Linked DNA regions of Homo sapiens: all the other regions are linked to region 4. The links are contacts of gene promoters, found by promoter capture Hi-C in human tissues and cell types (Jung and others, 2019). All regions are on one chromosome and are shown on one strand. Each heading gives the region's core, a stretch centred on a gene start or on the middle of the fragment in contact. The rest is flanking DNA. Distances are from core to core; before and after follow the strand shown.

The links. The method cuts DNA at HindIII sites, captures the fragments that hold promoters and counts their contacts. A contact is called where the count stands out against the background at its distance.
Region 1: a fragment that was not itself captured here is called in contact with the fragment with the promoter of AGL in region 4 in 1 of the 25 tissues and cell types used here (stomach).
Region 2: a contact is called between a fragment that was not itself captured here and the fragment with the promoter of AGL in region 4, in 1 of the 25 tissues and cell types used here (liver).
Region 3: a fragment that was not itself captured here is called in contact with the fragment with the promoter of AGL in region 4 in 1 of the 25 tissues and cell types used here (neural progenitor cells).
Region 5: a fragment that was not itself captured here is called in contact with the fragment with the promoter of AGL in region 4 in 1 of the 25 tissues and cell types used here (spleen).

What each region holds. Positions count from the first base shown.
Region 1 is chr1:100,954,571-100,957,801 of GRCh38, reverse strand. All of the region lies in intron 8 of SLC30A7 (solute carrier family 30 member 7), which reads right to left. Among named protein-coding and RNA genes, the nearest start is that of SLC30A7, 60 kb to the right of the region's middle. The HindIII fragment of the contact is 6,198 bases long and covers 1-3,231 here.
Region 2 is chr1:98,700,436-98,703,893 of GRCh38, reverse strand. SNX7 (sorting nexin 7) reads right to left here. Exons shown (of 9, transcript NM_015976.5): 7 at 1,991-2,077. Among named protein-coding and RNA genes, the nearest start is that of SNX7, 40 kb to the right of the region's middle. The HindIII fragment of the contact is 3,132 bases long and covers 194-3,325 here.
Region 3 is chr1:100,929,056-100,932,564 of GRCh38, reverse strand. The region is part of intron 8 of SLC30A7 (solute carrier family 30 member 7); the gene reads right to left. Among named protein-coding and RNA genes, the nearest start is that of SLC30A7, 35 kb to the right of the region's middle. The HindIII fragment of the contact is 3,099 bases long and covers 1-3,001 here.
Region 4 is chr1:99,848,759-99,852,255 of GRCh38, reverse strand. AGL (amylo-alpha-1,6-glucosidase and 4-alpha-glucanotransferase) reads right to left here and starts at 1,895. Exons shown (of 34, transcript NM_000642.3): 1 at 1,841-1,895; 2 at 1,132-1,281. The coding sequence starts at 1,213. RefSeq lists enhancers at 801-1,774, 2,425-2,574, 1,775-2,749 and a silencer at 1,925-2,244. The HindIII fragment of the contact is 6,862 bases long and covers 1-3,497 here.
Region 5 is chr1:101,362,482-101,365,678 of GRCh38, reverse strand. All of the region lies in intron 4 of LINC01307 (long intergenic non-protein coding RNA 1307), which reads right to left. Among named protein-coding and RNA genes, the nearest start is that of LINC01307, 40 kb to the right of the region's middle. RefSeq lists a silencer at 1,059-1,158 and an enhancer at 1,589-1,658. The HindIII fragment of the contact is 7,284 bases long and covers 1-3,197 here.

The sequences.
Region 1 (3,231 bases), core at 490-2,989, 1.1 Mb before region 4:
CTGTACTCAGAAAATGGGCACAAAAATTGTTCTCCTTGAATTATGTTTGAGAATTAGAAAAAAGGTTTTTTTCCTACCTACCTCGTAAGTTTAGTTATTTTAATAATTTCTTCTCCAATCTCAATCTAGGGAACTATTAACAATGTTTAGATATCTGACGTGAAAATTACACTCATGGAAACCATGACACTTGGGTTCTGATTCTGCCATTAAATAGCTTTAAGCAAATCACATAGTCTTCCAGAGCATCAGTTTTCTCATCTATAAAATGAAGGAGTAGACTAAACATCCAGGCAATTTCTTTCATCTTTTATATATTTTCCATTCAATAAGAAAAAGTGGTTAAACTATAAAGAATACTAGAGAGAGAATATATTTGGAAATGAAAGAAAATATAAATTGTTTTTATATACTAAGGGGAAAAAAGCAGTGTCACCAAATGACACATAGATATACTTGGCAAAATGATTTATTCTATCATGATAGAAAATCCAGCAAATGAATTTTATTAAGCAATCAATATTAAGCGATTATTAAGGATCTACTACTATATATCTGGCATCAGATTTTCTGGAACCAGGTGGGACCTTACTCTCGAGTTGTGGCAATGGTGACCTAGAGCACCAAAGTAACTTGTTTAAGGACACAGCTATTAAGCAGGAGAACTAGAACAGATCAGGTCGTTAGACTCCAAGTTCAGTTTTGAAAAGTTCAAGTCAACAAACATCTGTTATATGCCAACCATGTAGCAAGCATGTGCTAGACACTGGAAATACAAAAATAAATAATATAGAATATTTCATCTCAGAGAAATTCATAACTTTATTTTTAATAAGCCTGCAGAGAAGGCAATGGAAATCAGTCATCAAACTTATTTAGGGCCAACCATTTAGAAGAAGGCACATATGAATTTAAAGCAACTACATATTATGCTTGTATCCATTTTCATTTTCCATGAACTTTTGGTAAATGGTTTTCTTAATTGGTATGTTGATAACTTCTTTTTAAACATACCTTTAAAAGTAAAGGGGAAGAGAAAAAGGAATAGAAGAGGCACTGACTCAACTGCAACAGAAGGCATACAGTATGAGAAATAACATTACTTAAGCAATAGGTGTGAATAACTTTTGTGAACAACTTTTAAAAATTTATTGTTTTAGAATATTCAGGTTTAGTCTAGTTGTTTCCCCCAAGGAGCTAAACACAGTAACAGATGGTGAATCCCATCTATAATAATCCTTGAGGAGATCAGCCTTAAAACATTAAAGACATTCCCTTAGACAGTCCAACAGTCTCTTAATAAGTCACCTAGAAAAAACATCTACAGATTTATCCAAATCTTTGTTCAAATTTTTATGTGTGTATTCCATGTGTGTTGCCTTCCAAAGTCTGCTACTCCCTGCCACCACCTTTTTAAAAAATAACCTAGTACTTCCTTTTTTCCTCCTAAAATTCGCTTTCACATGAGGCCCTTAGTTTGAGGACTCTAGAATTAGTAAAGAAGTTACATGATCACAAATAATATCATATTAGAATTAAAAGGAAATTTAGAGATCACTCATTTTAACACCATTCAAGAACAATATGTAGATAAACATTTTAATAAAATGTTAGAAATAAACATATATTTTAAAATTAACTAAATTATAAGACATCATCACTGATATAAGGAAATAAAATTATAGTGCATTTTTATCTCTTTTTTTCATTAGGATCAATTGTGGTTTTTATTGATTTGCTTATACTGAAATTTGGAATGGTTGTCTTTTTAGGTAGAATTTTAATAAAATCTTTACACTCAACAGCAGCAAGCATTTCACCAAAGCAAATGGATATGTCACACTAACTTTCTCCAATAGCAATTTAAAAATAATGCAAGAATTTCAGCTGTAGGAGCAATAACTAGGTCATAAAACTATGGTAGAGAATAAAGGTACTTGCTAAATCACACGGTGATACACAATTTAGAACAAGGCCAATTTCTATAATAATTTAAAGAGTCATAAAAATGTAAAAGAAACCTTTAGAAACTCTAGTTTTTGCCTTTTAAAATTGTGTTTAGCTCAGGAGTTTGTGTCCATATTTTTCTGATTAACTATTGTAATAGAGAAGCATAAACCAGATTTTAGCTTGGATCTATCTAGCCATAATGAAAGGAAATGTAGAAAACGACAAGCTTAGCAAATTCCTGACTGAGCTAAGACTTAGAGCTACATCCAAACCCAAAAAGTAAGCATTTGGAAACAATTAGAGGTTCACTTCTGGTTGACTAACCCAATTCTAGCATTCACAATGAAGCACCATTTCCCTATCATAAATAAAAAGAGATGAGTCATTAGGTATGAGTTTACCAGTAAAACAGGGCAATGATTTTATTCTTCAAAAGCTGAAGGTAAATCACAGTTATAATCTTACAATCATAAACATAATATTAATTTGAAAGCTTTACCCTTAAATGCTAACAGATTAAATAAGCAGTAGTTACTTATTACTCTTTACTGCCAGTAATTTTTTACAAGTAAAAATATATTCAAATCTTACTTCAGAAGCAGCTTTTAGTGAAAGAGCCTCACTACTTCAACAGTAAATAAAATTATCTACCAGTAATTATAAACAAACCAAACAAAAAAGGGTATGCATTACGAAAACTTCTGAAGAACAGTCTACTGACAATCACAATGTTTAACAATAAAAAATTTCAGTTAAAATTATTACTTAGATCTGAGAATAAATGTCAAGTAATATTAATTAAAACAAGATTACAGATTCATCTTGATGAATCAGCTTATGAGCTAAGTTTTCCTATATATTGTAGGGGTTCTTACAATCTACAAACACAAAGAAAGAAAATTATAGTTTTAAAAATAAATTTTAAAAATAAATTTGGCTTATGTTGTATATCATATTTTCAGGGGACAAAAAAGCCAAAGAAAACTGGCCCATAATGGTAACGCAATTCACATTTAAATTAAATATTCAGTCACATTTGCATAAATATAATTAATTCATAGTGATGGATAATTACCTATTAATCCAGAATTTCATAAGCCTTCTATAGAATAGATAACCAAAAATCTTATCACCTGGGATTGTGCTTTACTTTATAATTATACTGTGTTTCTGAAACCTCTGGCTCAAATCAATGCATATTTATAGAGAACATGCTTTACCAATAATGGGGATATTAAGATGTCCTAAGGTACCCCTAGAACTTAGAGCCAAAGTCATGAA
Region 2 (3,458 bases), core at 510-3,009, 1.1 Mb after region 4:
ACTGTTTCTAGTATTTCATCAAGAGCAAAATTTTGTCTAACCACTAACTTCGATATCCTTACTTAACACCTAAAAACAAATTCTAAAATTCAAAAGATGCAATTACAATTTCTATACACATGTGCAGCCTTTCACAGTCAATTCTAATTGACTCTTAACTCTCTCTCTATATATAGTTAAGAACTATATGTATATATGTATATATATGTTTATACACATATGTATATATATGTTTCTTAACTATATATAGAAAGAGTGTTAGGAGTCAATTGTTTCTTATCAAATAGAAAAGGTTAATCTGGGGTTCTCTCTAAATAATAAAGATGAGTTTTCCCTTGAGCACTAGTTCATCTAGTTCTACATTTTCTGTTATTCCCTCTCACAGATTCCTTTCTCCTACTCTGTCTACAGCAGCCCACCACTCCCCACTCACATTCCACTGGAGAGAACAGAATTTCAGTTAATATACATAGTCAAGAAACGTGAGAGTAATTCATAGTATAATAATTCTAAGTTGCATAGAACTATGCAAGTTAGACTTCGTAGACACAAGGACTCTTTGTATTTGTACTCATCTTTTCTGGTTTTCACAATATTAATTAAATAATGAAATAATTGCACATTCTGATTTTGTAGAGACTTCATGCTTCAAGCCTTCAATATGCTTGCACAAATCAGAGTAGTCCCTGTGGCTTCCACTCATTCCTTCACTACATATTTATTGAGTGACTACCATGTGCCAGGCAGTGCACAAGGGCCTGGGAGCACTCCAGTGAACAAATAAAAAAAATCTGCCCTTAAGGAGTTTCAATTATGGAGAGGGAAAGAGAGAGAAAAATATACAAAGAAAACTAATTAGGAAGTCATATGTTAGGAAGTGATTAAAGTTAGGGAGAAAATTAAAGCAGGGAGGGGGGATGCAGAGTCCTTGGCCAGGTCAGGGCTGAGGAGGCTGCAATATTACAGATTTACAGGGAAGTTTCAAGGACTCCCCCGCTCACCTGATGTAAGTGCACTCAATATTGTATTCAATAACAACCTAAATCCTTAAATTTAAAGAAAAATTTTAAAAATATTTCATAATGCACTCAGTAGAAGTTCGTTAGGTTAAAAGTCCATTTTTCCCACTTCTATACCTGCTTTCTGATAGGCAGCACTGTCTGAGGCAGGCAAGAGACGTCATCACCTCCAATCCTATTCTGCATTTCAAGACCTATATATAAACTTAGGCAAATTACTCTACCTTTCAAGAGTCTTCTCACCTTTAAAGTGAGAATAATTATTCCAACCTGATAGTATTACTCTGAAAATGCAAAGATACTAAAATATAAATATAAAAATACCATGGGTAAAATAATCTATATCTAGAATTTGCTTTAGAATACTTCAGTAAAAATTTAAAAATGAGGAGAGACAATAAAAAAAGTTGAGCCAAATGGTGAGAATTAATGAAGCCCAGTTATGAGTATATGAGAGCTCATTGTATTATTAGATCTCATTTTGTTTGAAAATTTCCATAATAAAATATCTTAAGGGAAAGATTAAACTTGCAAACGCAAAGATATTCCCTTTCATAAAGATTTTAACAACACTTAGAAAAGAAGTATACAGGAACATTAATGTATATAAATATCTCAAAAAACTATAAAAAAGTAGATTTACTTACTGAGTACTTACTAGCCTGGAATAATGCTAGCATTGCCTTTCATACTTTCTTCTAACACATTATTTCCTTTTTACAAAATTATACTTTCTTAATAGTATGAGACATAAGTCAGAAAGGCAGAAAACCGTCATTGTTAAGCTTGTAGACTCACATGGTATCCAATGTATAACAGATTTTAGGAAGAAATTTTACTATAATTTGCTTAATGCTTAGAAACAATCATATAAGAAACAATCATGTAAGGACAATCATGTAAGGACATTGCTAATAAAAATTTTAGACAATGAATTCTATATGATTGTATCAAGAAACTTAAAAACTTACCAGATCAGTATCTGCCTTTTTATAGGTCAAAACTTCAACTTTGGAATCCAGTTCTGCTTGTATTTGGTCTCTTCTTTTCATAACACCCTTTACATTAAAACACACAGATAAAATAGGCTGTACTTAGTTTTAATAATCTTTCCTATAGCAAAAATATATATTTCAGAATATAAATAGCATCTCTTCCCCAAGCCATCAGTCATTTGGGGATATAATACATTTAAAAAGTTGTTTTTTTTTTTTTGTTACTCTCTAAAAACTAAATTGAAAGCAAGTATTTAAGAGGGTTTTTTTTCCTATAAATGTTTTATTAGTTTTCCTAATGCACATTTTACCCATTTAAGCATTGTACATATGTACTACATTTGGTGGAATACGCATGTACAATTCTTCAAAAATAGTAAAGAGCAAAACAAACAAAAAATAGTAGAAGCACTGGAGAAATACACTATGGCATAAACTAGTTATGGGTGGGATGTCACATGGACCATATCTACACTCTGTGGCAACCTTCTTACCTGACTCCAAAGGATCAGATAATCAAACAGGAAATTATGGTAGGAAATCAGAAAATTGAAGTATGCATTCATATCCTAAGCATTTTATTTTAGCTCAAAATATAAAATATTCATCAGTTAGCCAAGCTTTGGATGAGAGATCATAGCCTCCTCTTTGATAGGAGTTTCTTGTTTTCTTGATTTCATGTTTCAGAGTTTTTAAACTTAAAGCACCCATGTGAAGAAATTTGAGTGCAGAATTCAACTACATCTTTCATTTTTGCCGAACTTTTACAATGTCTTTAAGTGATTCACATTTCTTCCGAGACATGTAACTTAGACTTTAAGGATACAAGGACTCTTTTTATTTGTACTCATCTTTTACTGGTTTTCACAATATTAAATAATGAAATTCTAATAAGAAGCACAAATGGCCTGAACAGGTTAAGGAAAAAATAAAACTAAGTTTGGACAAGCAAACAATTCAACCAGCTAGAGAAGTACAGGACATAAAAGAGAAGGGCCTTCTGGTGTTTTAAAGAAGAAGGAAAGAAACTAGACACAAATCAGTTACATGGAGGTCAAACAAGATGGCTCTACACTATTTAAATGATAACCAAAAAGCATTAAGGATTAAGAATCACTTAGTACAGTTTTGCACCTGGTGGAATGACTCTTAAGACATTCAAAGCAGGCCAGGCACAGTAGTTCACACCTATATCACATCTCAGCACTTTGGAAGAAAGAGGTGGGAGGACCACTTGAGCCCAGGAGTTCGAGGCTGTAGTGAGCTATGATTATGCCTCTACACTCCAGCCTGTGCAACAGAGTGAGACCATGTCTCTTAAAAAAAAAAAAAATCAAAGGAAGCTAACATTTTTCCTAGTTGCAAAGAAGTCCATAGAAAATTCAACTGATATCTCAAATTCCTTTATATTTACCTCAATGTTTAAATACCATTAATGTCAAGA
Region 3 (3,509 bases), core at 203-2,702, 1.1 Mb before region 4:
ATACCATCATTAGATTTTAAATTACTAACGTATATATCTAGTTATATTATACCACTCACATTTCTATTTTTCATGCTTTGTAATAGAAATATCAGTTGCAAACCACAAAGAGGCCATATTAAGCAGTTTCCTATTTATTTATTTATTTTTGAGACAGAGTCTTGCTCTGTCACGCAGGCTGAAGTGCAGTGGCGCAATCTCGGCTCACTGCAACCTCCACCTCCCAGGTTCAAGCGATTCTCCTGCCTCAGCCTCCCAAGTAGCTGGGATTACAGATGTGTGCCACCACACCTGGCTAATTTTTGTATTTTTAGTAGAGATGGGGTTTCACCATGTTGGCCAGGTTGGTCTCAAACTCGTGACCTCAGGTGATCTACCCGCCTCGGCCTCCCAAAGTGCTGGGATTACAGGCATGAGCAACCGTGCCCAGCCATTAAGCAGTTTTTTATGGGACTAACCGTTCTAAAACTTTTGTGGAAAAGGAATAACACTCTGATTTTTAAATTTCTCCCTTCATTTTAGCTTTTATACTCCAATAAAGTCAATGATGAAACATACAACATTTCTTAGAAAAACTACAGTTCAAATATAGCAACAACAAAAATGGTAGGGTTAGATTAAAAGCAGAAATAGCACACTCTGGTGTTTGTACACAGCTCTTCTTATTTGACTTTTTGAGGAGTTTTTGGCTTTAGGGTAAAGGAAAAAATAATACAGTATGTTTGATGTTTAAAAGAAACCAAATACATTTCAACAATGAATTCCTGAATAACTCTGATTGGAAGATGGTATCTCAGAACACTTTAACTCCAATTTACAAATCCAGTTTACAAATAGACTCCTAATTTACAAATTGGTAGTATTTTAAGGTATTTTTAAGTTGGCTGTTTAAAAATCACCGATTTCCCACAAGAAACAATGCAAAAAGCAGTTAGGTTTTACAGTGAATATTTTAATAAGAGCACAGTACTAAACTCTGGTACTAAATTCTGGTAACTGAACAGTAAAAATTAAAAAAAAATACTCAGTGAGTTTCAAATAAGAGCATGGAAAATAAAATCCAGTAAGCAATCCTAGTAACCAAAAACCCTGCTCCCTCTTCATTGGCCAGGAGATAACCTTATCTCTAATACTAGCAGTTACAACCTTTTGGAGGCATTGACAGTTAAGGCATATTTACGAATTGTGCATGTGTGTGTTTATGTGTGTAGTAATGTAATGGCAGAGAGAGGAAATGAGTGGAGATTTTGCTTAAGTCAGGAATTTTTAAAATATACTTAATGGCAGTTTATTGGTAGTTGTACTGAATTAATACCTGATACTGTATCCTCAGATCCTAAGAAAGTGTTGAGGACAAAGCAGATGTTTCAATAAAAACTACCGAATTTTTGCTGAATGATATTCTTACATAATTAGGTTCTTAAGTTCAAAATTCTGTTTACCATTACTATGCTCACTGTGTTCTTTCCAGTATTATAAAACCCTCTGCCAGCCTTTAACTAGGGTTCCTCATCTGAACCAATGAACACAGAAAATGATTTTAGCGACTATTTCTCAATTGCCCCAAGGATAATACATAACTGTAATTTTCTAGATACATAGGTAAGAAGTTAATAATTCCATACAAATTGAGGCTTTATAGTATTAGGGTGTTCTTTCCCAATTGAGAAAGGCTGTTAGACTAATCAGTTTTTATAAATGTTCTTACTATGATGGTTTTATGCATGATTAAAGAATACAATAACTATGCAATAATGTTCCCATATGTTCAATTTTACAATATGGGCACATATACAAGCAGCAAGTTAAAATCTTGGTAAACTGTTTATCTTAGTCCCCAAAAGTAATAGTTCACAAATTATAACCACTTGAAAGGCAAACCACAAAGGAAATTGTTAGGGAACACCCAAAAACAATTTTGAAAAAAGTAAAATCTCCAGAATTTGTCATATGGTAACTTTCTACATATTAAAAAAAAAAATGCTTACTTTTTGCTTAATACAGGCCACAAATTTATTCTATTCAACTCTTTCTATTTAAATATGAAATCAACAAGATTTATCAAAATCAGTACAGGGTCTAAATCCTATATTCATGAACAATGATGATTTCTTATAATTTAGAATTTCAAGTTTATAATTTTGTTTCCATTAGTATACATTCTATTTTATACAGACCATTATTTATCATTTCTAAAGTCTGTACCTCAGTTTGCCTCTAAAAATTTGTTTCCTCTAAAATTAAGCTGCTATTTTAAAATTTTAGACCTAACAAAAAGACTTGTTTTTGGTTAAAAAGCTTTTCTTTGTACTTACAAATGATTTTGTGGTATGTATATATATATGTATATAAAAGTACAAAGCACCACAAGATGGTAACTGGTGAGTTGCAGAAAATTGATTTTTTTAAAAAAATCTAGCAAGGCTTCAGAAATATCACACCAGTAACAAAGTATATTTCTATATCCTGCTTAGTTTTATAATTATCCATCATGCATAGGTAACCCTTTCATTTAAGTGAATAAAAAAAAATCAAGCTACAGATCTATGTAAATTGCCTCGTCTCTAAACTGCAGTGAGATTCAAAGCTACAACTAATTGTTCAGATTTCTGCATTCTAAGTTATGAATTCATCTTCTATCCCAACTCACCTTAGGGAAAAAAGGAGCAGAACTACTCTGAAAGCTCTTATAGGAATCATATTTTCAGAAAATAAAAAATCACACTCTTACATTATATTCATTCTCCTGTTTTTCATTGCAAAACAAAATTCATCACAATACAACTCAGTTTTACCCCAAAATTTATTATCACCCTTTGTCTGTGTAGAAAATGTTGAAAAAAAAAAACCTGTCTTTTTCTAAGAAATAACTTTCACTGTGGAAGTGAAAATGGAACGCTGGGCAAGCTAGAAGGGATAGACATATATTTCCATGGCACGTTTTCAACTGAGCAGCAGTAGACCCAGAGAATTTAAAAGAAGTGCCACTATTTCTCTTGCTATTGATGAACTGCAAATACTGAATATATAAAAATTAATGGTAGGGAAAAATACTTCTTTATACTCTATTTAGTTGATTTTTTAAGAGTTTTCACTATTTCCTAAAATCAGGCAAATTTTTACCAATTTGAAAAACATCTCAGAGTGATCTCCTTGCAAATAGTTCTTTATCAGGTGTACATTTAAATAAATTCAGTTTGTTTTCTTTTTTAAATGAAAAAAATGCTGAACTAGAATTTCTTTATTTTGTACTTTGGAGCTACTTTTTAACTGACTTTCATTAAAAAACTTATGCTTTTTTAAAGTCTAAGTCAAAAATGTTACCATAGAGAAATTAGGCAAGAGATGTAATTTTAAAATTACACTACCCAGAGAGAGCCAATTAACATTCTGGGAAATATATTCTCTATATATATGAATGCTAATTGGGATCTGGTGTGTACAGGCACGCACACACACACACACACACACTCTCTATATATAGTTTCTCCCTCATACATGTAAAGATA
Region 4 (3,497 bases), core at 646-3,145:
GCTGAAAGCTTCCAAGAAGAAGAAAGCTCAAGGCTTTTCCTCCAAAAGTAGTCATTAGCACAGAGGCAACAGTTGAGGCCATGAGACTGTGTAACTAATTCTTTGAAGGAGAACAGAAAAAGAATTCCTAGCAGATACCCATAATTAATTAAAAAGTGAAAGGAAGAGAGCCTAGTAAGAGACACCAAGTTGACAAGAATATGCAACAGGGGAGGGGGAAAAAAAAATCAAAACCAGAAAAGTGCAGAGTCAGGAAAGCCAAAAATGGAGTAGGTACTCAGTGATTTTAAATGCCAAAGTTGGAAAAAGGCGCGGATTTGGCATGAAGATATCACATTGTATGTGTGAAATTTTTTTCAAAAATTTAATTCTTAAAACATTAGCGAAATTTAAAAATTCCTTTGAAATGTTTATGACTAGCAACATCCATTTGGTACATTAATAAGGGGGACTGGATTTTTCATATATTACACTTCTTCAATGTTGAAAAATTACAAAGGCTAAGAAAATAAAACATCTATTAACTAGCCTTGTAGAAAAGTAATTTGATCTTTTAAATACAGATCAACTATATATAGTTCAACATAACCAGATGAGTTATTGCACTTTTTATTTGCTAAGAAAATATTTTCAGCTTTTACCTACTCCACATTTGAGAAGTTTTTGATATACATAAACAATAGTTTACTATACTTTTTGCTGCAATCTATTTTGTCAATTCAAAGGTTCAACAAAGGAAAAGAGACAGTTATACAAAGGCAAAACTACATGCATACCCAAAGCAAAATTACATATGAAGTAATTTACCAAGTTTTAATAGTAAATGTTATTAGAAATAATATGGGCAATCTTCTGATCATATATTTAACTTCAATCTTAAGTGGGAATTAGTACGCAGAGAAAAGAGAACTATTTTATCCTTATCCTAACACGAGGGATATAAAATATTTTTAATTCAAATCAACATTAATTAGTGATATATGGAGAACACAGCACCATCTTTGCACAAATCAAGTTTTAGACCCTTGGAAATAATATTTATCTTAGAGCTTTAAAACATTTAACAGGACTGCCAATGAATTAAAAGTTTAAAAGACGCAAATGAGCAAATCAAAACAACTTGCTACTGACCTTGTTCAAGTCTGAAGAGGGTCTTTTCCAGTTTCTCCATTTCGTTCAGAAGTAAAATTCGAATCTGTTTACTGTGTCCCATTTTGGCTTCTAGAGGATTTGAAATCTTTCATAAGAATTAAAAGAACTCCACAGTCGAATGAGTTACCCCTATGAAACAAAAAGGAGTTAAAATATCGAAAATAACTATTGCCTTAAACTCTCCAGAGCTGACAGCGGCACTTACATGTTCGAAGTGTGTTTTATGCCTAGCAGAGCAATGAAAGAGAATGAATCTTATAACTATTAAGATTCGAGAAGGCAAATTAATAGTTGTTTCCTGCCTTTGAGCACAACGAATAAGACCGAAATAAAAATGCTGTATTACAGATTCTTACAATTAAAAAATTAAAAACCTAGACCATTCTCAGAGAAAAGCAATACACTTAGGAAAGCCTGAAGTCAGGGGGACATTCCCAGCCCCAAGCCACAGGGCTCTGGAGACTCCGAATGGCACTTCTGCTTACAAGAGATTAGTCTGCTCAAAGATAACAGGTGGGCAATCTCCCCATTCCCAAATTCGGGTCGCCAGCCACCAATGGGGAGATGAGAACAGAGGGAAGCAGTTGTTGCCTCTGGAATAGCTGCCGTAGACAGAAGATGTACAGAGCGAGCTATAGATAGAAAGAATGCGTTTCCCCGCGAGGCCAGCGGCATTCCTAGCACTTACGCCGAGGGAGTTATACGTGCGGCTTCTGGGGCACTGCAGGACCCGCGACTCTGGTGCTACGGTCGGGGGGAGGGGACGGGGAGAAACAGAAGGGGAAGGGCTGGCTGCCCAGCCTCGCACAGAAGCCGCAGCCCAAGGAGGGCCGGGCGCCGTGAAGGGCAAAGGGAGGGGCGGCGAGCGACCGGGGCAGCGCCGAGGCAGCTGGGTGAGAAGCAGGCAGAGTCTCAGCGACTTCGCCTCGCGCGGGTTCCTGGGCGCACCCGGTACCCAACCTGGCCGTGCGCGCACTCGCCCCAGGTGGGAGCGGACCGTACCTCTGGCCCACTTCCGGGAGGCTCGACCCGCCCGCCCCGACCGCTAGTCTCGCGAGAGCGTGGGCACCGCACCGTCTCAGTCGGCTCCGGGCCGGGGGACCTGGAGCCTGCTGCGGCTGAGGCCGGGAGCGGCGCTTTCTCCTTGCCCTGGGGAAGGTGCACCGGCCAAGGCGCGGCCTTCCTTTAACAGCCTGCGAGCTCACAGTTGCACATTAAAATCCCGCGGTACCGGCTGCGAGCTAGGTTGAGCTGCACAGTAGGATCTTTTGCTGGGAAGGGCTGAATGGTGAGGGGCAAACGACCTGGCTTCTGGTGTCTTTTGTGCCACCACGTGTTTTGTTTCTTTGTTTTGATAATTTTTACTTGGCCTAAGTTCTCAGAGTCCTGATTTCTAAGTGTCTAAAATAAGGGGCCTGGCTACAGCCTTGACATTCCAGCCAACACGTGTCCATCACTTCTAGTGCTAACAGACAGGACACATGTTCCTGAATGCAGACCCAGTAGGTAAGGTGTGGCCAGTCTGCAAACCATCGAGAGTGCAAACACCACTGATACTTAACGGTGTCCGGGTGTACCTCATGTACACTAGATAGACCCGGAGATCGTCTGAGATTAAGCTGCACTTATGTTAGGCCAGTAACTCAGAACTTTTTGCAGATGCTTAAGGAGATTTAATGCCTGAGGGTAAAGGAAAACCCATCTTCCAGGGCTTTTGGAGGGCTCCTAATGGTTATGAGAAAATGGACAGAAGATTTGGTTAACTAAGACTTGTGGCGTGTGGAGAAGATTCTTGCATTCTTTATTGTGGAATGACTGTAGGTCCAAAGAGGATATAAGTTAAAAAAAAAAACCCCATACTGAAGTATTTGTTTATTTCTGTAGATTTCTGAGAATGGCTAGTTGCAAATGGTCCGTAACTGACTTTGGGAACCCACAGCTCATTTTCTGGCCCCTACTATTTGCCAGGCACATAAGGTGCTGGGAATGCAGCAATAAAACAGTCACTGCCCTCAAGGAACTCCTACATTTTATTGGTGGGAGACAGATAAATTAAATAAATTATACAGGATATAATATATCCTATATAATAAGAAGGATATGTTATATCCTATATATAATAGGAAGGGGGAAGTGTGGAAGAGTAAGCAGAGAGAGGTTTGCATTTCTAAATATAACGTTCAGTAAAGTGATGCCAAACTGCGAGAAAGAAGAAGTCTAAGGTAGAGGGTTACATGTAGAGGTATAGGAAGTACAAAGGCCATGAGGCAGGAGCATACTTGGTGAACCGAAGAAGATCACCATAGCTGAGTGAAGAAGAGAGTGGTAAGAGATTAGGACAGACA
Region 5 (3,197 bases), core at 360-2,859, 1.5 Mb before region 4:
TCCTAATGTTCTTATTAACCCACGTAAAGGTAGAGTTTTAAACTTCAGAAAGCACTCAGTCACTTGATATTTATTTTTTTAAAATCAGTAGTGGAGACTAAATTGTTTCTTTCTTTAACCATTTGTTTTTTATTCCCAGCACAGTAGGAGGTAAGTGTAGTTCCAAGGAGAATGGGGCAAAACCCAGAGGCCAGCCCTCAAACTCAAGAAACACAGCACAAAGCTGTCTTTCCAAAGCTATGTGGTTCCGAGCCCAGGCTTATGGTATCCAGCTTTTCCACTGTGGTTTTGAAACGCTGGCATCTCCTTCTAGGTCCTCCATGAGCTCACACTCAGAACTAAGAGTTATGTTTGTCTTAGTAAATTCCTATTTTCTGACACTAACATTCTTGTTATGGCTCTTCCATCCTGGCATCCCCTCCAAGCTCCGTCTGCAGGACATCCTCCCTTTTCTAATGTCACCTTGTGTCCTGTCTCCTGTCTCCCATGGAGTAGACATCCTTTCAGCTTCCTTATCCCCCTCTGGACCCAAACAAACGGACTTCCCAAATGTTGAGGGACTTAGAGGCCTTTTCCTGCTCACCTAACGTCTACCTTTTCCTCCTAAAAACTTATCTTGTTGGAAACCCTTCATGGGACTAAGCCAGCTTTGCAATTTAAGATGCTGAGCTGCACAACAGGAGAGGTCAGGTGACAACAGAGTGGAAAAATCAGCAGAGCACTTGGAGAAAGAGCCAATGGACAATTTCCTTAATCCTTCCATCTCCTTATATGTCCTGTGATCTTTTTTGTCACTGCTTGGGCAGTTTCCTATTACAATTACACTGCATTTCAGCATCAGACAGCTCATCTCTTTTCCTTTTTAGGAGAAACTAGGGAGATACTGTCCTTCTATAGCCCCTGACCCAGCAGTTCCCCTGGCCTCTGGAGCTCCAGCCTAGTGCCAGATCAACAAGGGCTTGCAACCAGAAGACCCCTGAAGTTCTCTAAGGCTGTCTGTCTTTTCACTCACTACTAAAATAACTCCCCTTTCAGCAACACATATAAGTCATCCTGACAGCTCCAGGATTTATCTAGAGAAAGGGTTTAGTGGTGACAGTCAACCTGAAAAGGGAGCTGTGGGACTGGCTGTGAAACTACATTTGCATAGCAGGTCCATGGTTTAGGGGTGGATTATATGTTCCAAATGAGTTTTTAAGATACTATATTTTTGTACGGATATAATACACATAATACATAACATTGTTTTAATTGTCTTTGTCAAAGGATGGGCGATTCATGAAGATTGTGAAGGTAAAAGGCCCTAAATCGTCCCTTGACTACTACCATGGTTCCAGTCTTTCCTTAGACACTGAATATACTGAGTGAAAAGTAGTTTCTTCACTTCTCCCCCATCATATGGCATTTCCTCAGGGCTGAAGGCTATAAGCCAGCTTGGGGTAACACCACAATGGAGGTGCTGCTGAGCCTGCATTGTCTGAGGCAGATGCTTAGCAAGGGAAGCTCCTCACATTCACCCACAGAAAGTGAAAAAACACAGGGGCTCAGGCCCAGCTCCCAGATTTACTGAATCAGACTCTCAAAGGCTGAGGCTCAAGCACAAGTATCACAAGCACCCCAGGTGATTCTGATGCATAGCCCTGGACAAGAGGCCTGGCCTAATGAGAAAAATCAGGCAATTTGAGTGGGGATACCTAGGTTCAAGTCACACCTCTGCCAAGTGTTATTCACATGGCTCAGAATAACTCATTAAACCCTGGGCACTTTTCTCATGAGTAAAATGAAGACAATAATAGTGCCTGCTCTGCTCTCCTCTAAGGTCATTATAAAGAGCAAATGAAATGACAGTTGTGACATGTCTGCAGCCCTTAAACTCTCAGCTCTGTCCAGTTGACCACTTGAGGGACCTGCACTCTCGCCATCCAAGGACTTGGAGGCCTTCCTTGTCTATGATCTCAGGAAGGCATGTGTTTCCCTTATCTCTGCTGGATCTCAGCTATTTCCATTGTATTAGTTCATTTACATGCTGCTGATAAAGACTTACCCAAAACTGGGAACAAAAAGAGGTTTAATTGGACTTACAGTTCCACATGACTGGGAAGGCCTCAGAATCATGGCAGGAAGTGAAATGCACTTCTTACATGGTGGCAGCAAGAGAAAATGAGAAAGAAGCAAAAGCAGAAACCCCTGATAAACCCATCAGATCTCGTGAGACTTATTCACTATCACGAAATTAGCATGGGAAAGACTGACCCCCATGATTCAACTACCTACCCCTGGGTCCCTCCCACAACATGTGAGAATCCTAGGAGATACAATTCAAGTTGAGATTTGGGTGGGAACATGGCCAAACCATATCACTCTGCCCCTGGCCCCTCCAAATCTCATGTCCTCACCTTTCAAAACCAATCATGCCTTCCCAGCAGTCCCCCAAAGTCTTAACTCATTTCAGCATTAATCCAAAAGTCCACAGTCCAAAGGCTTACCTGAGACAAGTCAAGTCCCTTTCACCTATGAGCCTGTAAAATCAAAAGCAAGCTAGTTACTTCCTGGACACAATGAGGGTATAGGTATTGGGTAAATACAGAAGTTCCAAATGGGAGAAATTAGCCAAAACAAAGGGGTTACAGGGCCCATGCAAGTCTGAAATCGATTGGGGCAAATTTTAAAGCTCCAAAACGATCTCCTTTGACTCCAGCTCTAATATCCAGGTCACGCTGATGCAAAAACTTTCCTCTGGTCTTGGGCATCTCCACCTTTGTGACTTTGCAGGGTACAGCCTCCCTCCCAGCTGCTTTCACGGGCTGGCATTGAGTGTCTGTGGCTTTTCCAGGAGCATGGTGAAAGCTGTTGGTGGATCTACCATTCTGGGCTCAGGACGGTAGCCCTCTTCTCACAGCTCCACTAGGCAGTGCCCCAGTGGGGACTCTGTGTGGGGGGCACTCACGCCACATTTCCCTTCTGCACTGCCCTAGTGGAGGTTCTCCATGAGGGCCCTGCCCCTGCAGCAAACTTTTGCCTGGGTATACAGGCGTTTCCATACATCTTCTGAAGTCTAGGCGGAGGTTCTCAAAACTCAATTCTTGACTTCTGTGCACCTGCAGGCTCAACACCATGTGGAAGTTCCAGCTTTATGTCATAACCTTATTCGGCGAGGCTTTGATCGCTTTTCACTTCCGCCAGATATTACAGTGGTC